Regions from separate parts of the Homo sapiens genome. Here region 2 is linked to region 1. The links are contacts of gene promoters, found by promoter capture Hi-C in blood cells and fetal thymus (Javierre and others, 2016). All regions are on one chromosome and are shown on one strand. The core of a region is centred on a gene start or on the middle of the fragment in contact, and the rest is flanking DNA. Distances in the headings are between cores, read along the strand shown. Region 1 holds the start of TTC21B-AS1 (TTC21B antisense RNA 1). Region 2 has its middle 71 kb from the start of CSRNP3.

Evidence for each region. Contacts are between HindIII fragments. The CHiCAGO score rates a contact against its expected background, and 5 or more counts as called.
Region 2: a fragment that was not itself captured here is called in contact with the fragment with the promoter of TTC21B-AS1 in region 1 in 5 of 17 cell types (total B cells, M2 macrophages, naive CD4 T cells and 2 more); the score reaches 7.8 in total B cells.

Annotation. Positions count from the first base shown.
Region 1 is chr2:165,932,568-165,936,121 of GRCh38, forward strand. TTC21B-AS1 (TTC21B antisense RNA 1) reads left to right here and starts at 1,290. Exons shown (of 4, transcript NR_038984.1): 1 at 1,290-1,509. TTC21B (tetratricopeptide repeat domain 21B) reads right to left here. Exons shown (of 29, transcript NM_024753.5): 7 at 406-490. The HindIII fragment of the contact is 5,075 bases long and covers 1-3,505 here.
Region 2 is chr2:165,396,579-165,400,123 of GRCh38, forward strand. No RefSeq gene overlaps it. Among named protein-coding and RNA genes, the nearest start is that of CSRNP3, 71 kb to the right of the region's middle. The HindIII fragment of the contact is 5,097 bases long and covers 1-3,545 here.

The DNA of each region.
Region 1 (3,554 bases), core at 40-2,539:
TAATTTTTGCAAATTCAGTTAAATTGTAAATATACTATAAATTACATTTTGCATACATACTTTCTCATATCTAGTATCACTAGTTACATTACGTATCTAGTTACATTAATCATATATATTACTACACAGGAGTTTCATACAGAAAGCCATATATACTATAATTAATGATTTAAGGGATTTTCAAGGGTAATATTAACTGTATAGTATTTTTGCTTTACCAATAGATTTCAGAAGCTGACCTCTTTGTTAAGGTATACTCTAGTAATCAACTAAAAACTACCATGATGTATATTTTAAAAGAGAACTTCAAGGCTTTAATGTATATGCACATGCACACATGGGTGTGTATGTGTAATGAAATATATTTTTTAATATAGGAAACTTAAATAATACAATGCCACTTACCTTCTCTATATCCCCCTCTCTACACACATAGTAGAGTGCCTGCATTCTCAGTGCTTCCACATTTTGGCTATCTTGGAGCAGCAACCTGCAGGAAAACAATTTAGTTAATGTCAAAATAAATTTATATATTTTCTTTTATTCGAGGGCATGAAAAGTTGGTTTGCTTGCCTCACTATTCCACTGTTCAAATAAGTAATTTTCACTAGTAAAATGTCATCTGCTTTGTGAAAATTATCAACTTTATTATTTAAACAAGTAAAAGTCTCTGGAGTTTAATTTTTAATATGTTTTTAAAAGATATGAATAGATTATACTAGTCTCATTAAATCTTGTGGCAATCCTAAATAAAATATTAGCTAACTATATACAACAGTATAGTAAAAGAATAATTCACCTTAACCAGGCTGACTTATTACAGGAATTCCGGGAATGCAAACCAGGGTCAAACATTACAATACCTACTAATGTTATTCACAACAACAGATTCCTACGTGATAAAAACAAATGAGAAAATATTACATTAAAAAATCTTATTAATAAATGGAACAAAAACCAAAAAGAAAAACATAACAGGCATAAACTTAAGAAATGTGCAAAAGCTATAAAATTCCTATGAAACTGTACTCAGGGACATTTTTAAAAAGAACTGAACCAAAAAGGTAACGCCCCAGACTTCTCTTATCATGGATGATGTGGTACATATCACAATTACTGGTTCCAGTTTTTCAACCCTCCCTGAGTACGTGTCTTCTGCCATGTAACTAACTACAAAAGTTGGAGTGTACCCTACTGCTTCTTGACTAGGGACTTGGACATTTTTCTTATATTGGCCAATGGAATGTGGGCAGGAATAGCAGTGTATCAACCTAAATTTTAGAGGCACTGCATACTTCTGCTTGTTCTCTGGCACTTGCTATCAGTACAAGAAGAATTTCCTCTGGGTAGTGGCTGCTACTTGTTGTGAGTCTGGGGGAAACACTATTGGAGGTGACAAGAGTCCAAACTGCAATGATGTGCCACATTCACCCAGCTGCATCTGAACTGAAGCAGGGCCCCAGCCAAGCCTTGCCTGAGATCAGCAGACCCTCGATGACCCACAAAAATGTGAGTAAAGAATACTTATTATTATATGTCCTGACATTTGTGGTTGTTTGCTATACACCAATAGCTGCCTGATATAATAATGGTCATTTTTGGGAAAGAAAATTTTTTTTCCCCACATATGACTACAAATTTAATGCAATTCAAACCAAAATCTTCTATGGCTTCTTTTTTATTATTTTGTAAATTGATTATGACAGTCAAGAGCGAAAAAAAGAGCCAACAAAACTGTTATAAGAGAAACACGGAGAACTCCGTCTCTACTAAAAATACAAAAAATTAGCAGGGCGTGGTGGTGGGTGCCAGTAATCCAAGCTACTCAGGAGGCTGAGGCATGAGAATCACTTGAACCCGGGAGGCGGAGGTTGCAGGGAGCCAAGATCGCGCCATTGCACTCCAGTCTGGGCAACAAGCGAGACTCTGTCTCAAAAAAAAAAAAAAAAAAAAAGAAAAGAAACGAAACATGATGGAGAACTTGTGATAAAAATTATCAGAGTCCATTGAAAACTGAGGAGAGAATAGGCTCACTTAAAAAAAAAAAAAGCATATTTAGAACCAGTTATATACCAAAGAAAAACAAGAGCTTTTAGCATATGAAAAATTGCTCAATCTCAACACAATAAAAGAAATGAAAATAAAAATGAGATACCTCTCTTTCAGATTGCTTGAAAAAAAAAATACACGCACTGAAAATGGCCAGAATTGGTGAGGATAAGGTAAGGGATCATTCAATAGACTACTAGTAGGAGTGTAAATTAGTACAATTTCCTAGGAGAGCAATTTGGCAGTGCCTATCAAAATTTTAAATTTATATACTTGAGGGAGAGACTACAATTTGTCTCCTCAAATTCATTCTCTCCTTATTTGCTTGGGCATGTGGCTAGCCAACACTTCCTAGATATCTTTGCATTCAGAGGTGGTCAACGTGAAATAAAGTAATATATGCCATTTCTGGGCCTGGGCTTTTATGAAAAGTGGAATGACTTCTCTACATTATCTTTCCCTTTCTGCCAAGTGTTATGAGGTCTTAGGAGATGGCAGGACTGCAAGATGGAAAGCGTCTAGGTCCGTTAAAAACAGTGTGGAGCAAAGCTGCCTGATCACTTCTAACATTTACCCAAAACAGTTACATATGGGGAAACATTCTTCTATTACACTGAATCATTATATGTTTAGATCTGTTTTTGTAGCAGCTTAGCCTACCCTAACAAATACAGTATCTTGGATTCAACAATCTCTCCTTTGGGAAACTTCTCTGCAGATATAGTCCTACATGTGTTCAAAGAGGTATGTGTGTATGCATGTGTGTACAGTGCACTATACTGAACAGTGAAAAATAGGAAACTGCTTAGGTGCATACCAATGCGGAGAGATTAAATAAATTATTTGCATTTTCAATTCATAGAATGCTACTCAGTTTTAAAATGATTAGGGAAAGGAAGAAATACATAGATGTTTACAGATGACATGAACATCTATGTAGAAAATCTAAAAGAATCAATTAAAAAAAACTCCTGGAATCAACAAGCGATTATAGCAAGATTGTAGGATATGAGGTTAATATATAATATCAATTGCTTTCCTATGCACTAGCAATGAACAAGTGGTATTTGAAATTAAAAACACAATAACATTTACATTAGCACTCCTTAAAGTAAAATACTTAGGTACATATAAATCTAACAAAATATGTGCAAGATTTCTATGAGGAAAATTTTTAAATTCTGACAAAAGAAATCAAGGAAAAACCAAATAAACGGAGAGATATTCCATGTCATGGATGCAAAGACAATACAAGATGTTAGTTCTTCCCAATTTGATCTGTAAACTAACTCAATGCAATCCCAATCAAAATCCCAGCAAGTTATTTTGAGGATATTGACAAACTCATCCTAAAGTTTATACAGATTAGCAAAAAAACACAGAATAGCAACATACTATGGAAGGAAAAGAGCAAAGTTAGAGGTCTGACATTAGTTGACCTCAAGACTTACTATAAAGCTTCAGTAATCAAGAGAGTAGTGTGGTATTGGTGAAAGAACAAACAG
Region 2 (3,545 bases), core at 973-3,472, 540 kb before region 1:
TGCTTCGATTTTCTAATGTTTTGTTTTATATTCCTGCATCTATATTTCTGAAAGAGTTTGGCTTGTAATCTGTTTACTTTAATGTGCTTGTTAGGTTTTGAAATCAAGATTATGCTAACCTCTTAAAACAAGTAGGCAAAGGACTTTTCTTGTTCTTGTTCTCTGGTAGAGAATAACTAAGACTGGTGTTAATATTTTTCTTAATTCTTTGGATAATTAATTAGTAAAATCTGAGCATGAATTGTTTTTATGTACAGGTTTTTAATTATGTATTTATTTTCTCTGATAGAGGACCATTCATATTTGCTGTTTCTTCTTGTTTCACTCTCTGTAATTTGATAAAATTTCAAGTTTATTTACGTAAAATTGTTTATGATGATATTGTTTTTTAAAACTCTATAGGATCTTTAGTGGTGACCCATCTTGATTCCTGTTATTGGTATTTTGTGATTTCTCTTCTTTACTTATTTAGTCTTTTAAGGAACCAACTTTTGCCTTTTAAAATATTCTGTACTGTATGTTCTTTCCTATTTTTATTTGCTTTTATATTTATAATTTTCTTTCTTTTATTTCTTTAGTTTTAATTTACTATTGTTTTCTAAATTCTGAAAATCTCTATTTCATTCATTGATTTCAACCTTTGTTCTTTTTTTAGTAAATGCACTTAAGACTATAAATTTCCCTCTAAGCATGGCTATACTAGCATCCCACAAATCTTAGTATATTTCATTTTGTTAACATTCAGTTTAAAATATTTTCTCACCTCTATTTTGATTTTTAAAAATCTTACTAGAAACTTAGAAGAGAACTGCTTAATTTCCAAATACTTGAAAAAGTTTCTAGATATATTTATTTAGATTTCTAATTTAATTTCCTACATTCAGATAATATCGATAATATACTTTGTATAATCTTAATTATTTAACTTTTGGGGGAAAATGCTTTGTAGCTCAGCATCTATCAAATGTGTCATGTATTTCATATGTAGTTGAAAATAAAGTACATTTCAGTTGTTAAGTACAAAATTCTATATATTTTATTCATGAATTTGAAAGAAATCTTCATTTCTTTTGGCTGTTTTTACTATCCTTTACCAGAAGGGGTGTGCAAAAATTTTCCAATATGATTATAAATTTATTTATTTTAGTTCTGTTAACTTTTGCTATATATTTTAATTTTTATGTAGTTATTTGATATTTATTAGGTGCCTAAAATTTAAATTGCTACATTTTTTTCCCAGTAGATTGACCCTACTGTCATTATGGACCAGTCCTGTTAATTTCTAGTAAGATTGCCCTAAGTTCATTTTGTCTGATTATTATTATGCCTACAGTGGCTTTGGCTGGGTTGGTGATTGCATGGTACATACTCTTTCATTGTTTTACCTTAAATGTTTCTGTAACCTCCTATTCAATATTGAATATTCATGAATTATATTTTATATCCAGTCTAACAATATTTCTCTCTCTCTCTCTCACACACACACACACACACACACACACACACACATCTCACATTTGGATTTAAATTTTATGACTTCTTTTGGATTATTTGTATAATTCAGTTTTATACATTTTGTTACTATATTGTTTATAGTTACCCAAGCAATTGCCACATTAACTTTTTAAACTCCAAAATGAGTTAGTATTTCGCTACTTTCTGGACATTGCTAGGACATGAGAACACTTTTATTCTATTTCCCCCATTTCATCTTTTGTACTATTATTATATATTTTCATTTTACATGTAGTCTAACTCTGGAAGACATTATTATTACTTTTATGAAGTCAACACTTACTTAGTGTATTAGTATGTTTTCACACTGCTATAAAGATACTACCTGAGACTGGGTAATTATAAAGGAAAGAAGTTTTTGTTGTTTGTTTGTTTTTACAGACAGAGTCTTGCCCTTTGCCCAGGCTGGAGTGCAGTGGTCCACTCTCGGCTCACTGCAACTTCCACCTCCCAGGCTCAAGTGTTTCTACTGCTTCAGCCTCCCAAGCAGCTGGGACTACAGACTCCTACCACCACACCAGGCTAATTTTTGTATTTTTAGTAAAGATGGGATTTCACCATGCTGCCCAGGCTGGCCTCGAACTCCTGATCTCAAGTGATCCGCCCACCTCAGCCTCCCAAAGTGCTGGGATTACAGGTGTGAGTCACCATGCCCAGCCAGAAAGAGGTTTAATTGACTCACAGTTCCCAGTGGGTAGAGAGGGCTCAGGAAACTTACAATCATGGTAGAAGGTGAAAGGGAAGCAAGGCACACCTTATATGGCAGCAGGAGAGGGAGAGAGTGTGAGGAAGTGCCACACTTCAAAACCATCAGCTCTCGTGAGAACTCACTCACTATCACTGGAACAGCATGGGGGAACCACCCCCATGATCCAGTCACCTCCCACCAGGTCCCTCCCTTGAACATGGGGTTTACAATTCAAGATGAAATTTGGGCTGGGATACAGAGCCAAACCATATCACTTAGTTTTCCCAAAATATTTAGTTTTTTATTCTTTTCTGTATTTTCTACTAATCTATGGATTATTTCCCTTCTGCCTGAAAAAAAGATTCTTTTTAATATTTCCTTTACTATGGGTCTGCTCTTACTGACTCTCTCAAGTTGAATTTGTCCCCTAATTTTTTAATTTTCACTTTTGAAAGATATTTTTACCAGACATGAGTACCAAGATACTTTTTCTATTTTAGCATTTTGAGGTGACAGTCATTGTCTTCTGTAAAAAGAATTTCAAGAAACCCCCAAAACCATAATTTTCATGAAAATGAACACATGACCACATGTCAAAGATTTCATTTAACTCATTAATTAATGAGAAAATCCATAAGAACTAAACAACAGGATTAAAGGAGGATTTGACTTATAGAGATCCATGAACTCTGCTTGACAACTTTTATTTGCTTTGTCATGAACAGGAATCATTTCCTGGCTACAGGTAAAATTATCAGAAACAGAGGCTCTGTGGTCTCTTGATGGAAATTCCTTCTCTAAATGTTGCTTCCAGATGTCTCTGATCTATTGGTCTTTTGGGCAGTTTCATACCCTGCTTTCTACCCCTCCCCATGCCAAAACTCCAAAGAAATTCTGAATCCTCTTTTGTGCTAGGTGCAGACCATGTGGCATTGTAGCCATGCTCTTAGCCTCCTCCTGTACCTGCACGATGGCACCAAGGCTCTCCAGGGCTATGCTAAATGTGGGTCATTCCTCAGCATCTTGCAATTTTCATGGTCTATGTTCTGTAAAGGGAAGAACGTGCCCTCTGCTTGTGAGTCCCTTAAATGTTTCTATCTTTGAACGTCTACCACCAGCACCACCCCCAGTTCTAGTTTTAATCATGAGGGAGGAAAATCAGATCACTCATATATAATCCTTTACTCTTAATTTTTTTCTCTTACTTTCCAGCATCTAGCAACAGTTATTTTCCTTCCCTTTGAGGCAGGAATTTTCTTTACATAATATACTATTCTTTGTATTCTGGGATCCATACTTTGTTCAATTCTTTGAACTCTGGGTCTTAATATGCAAAAATCTG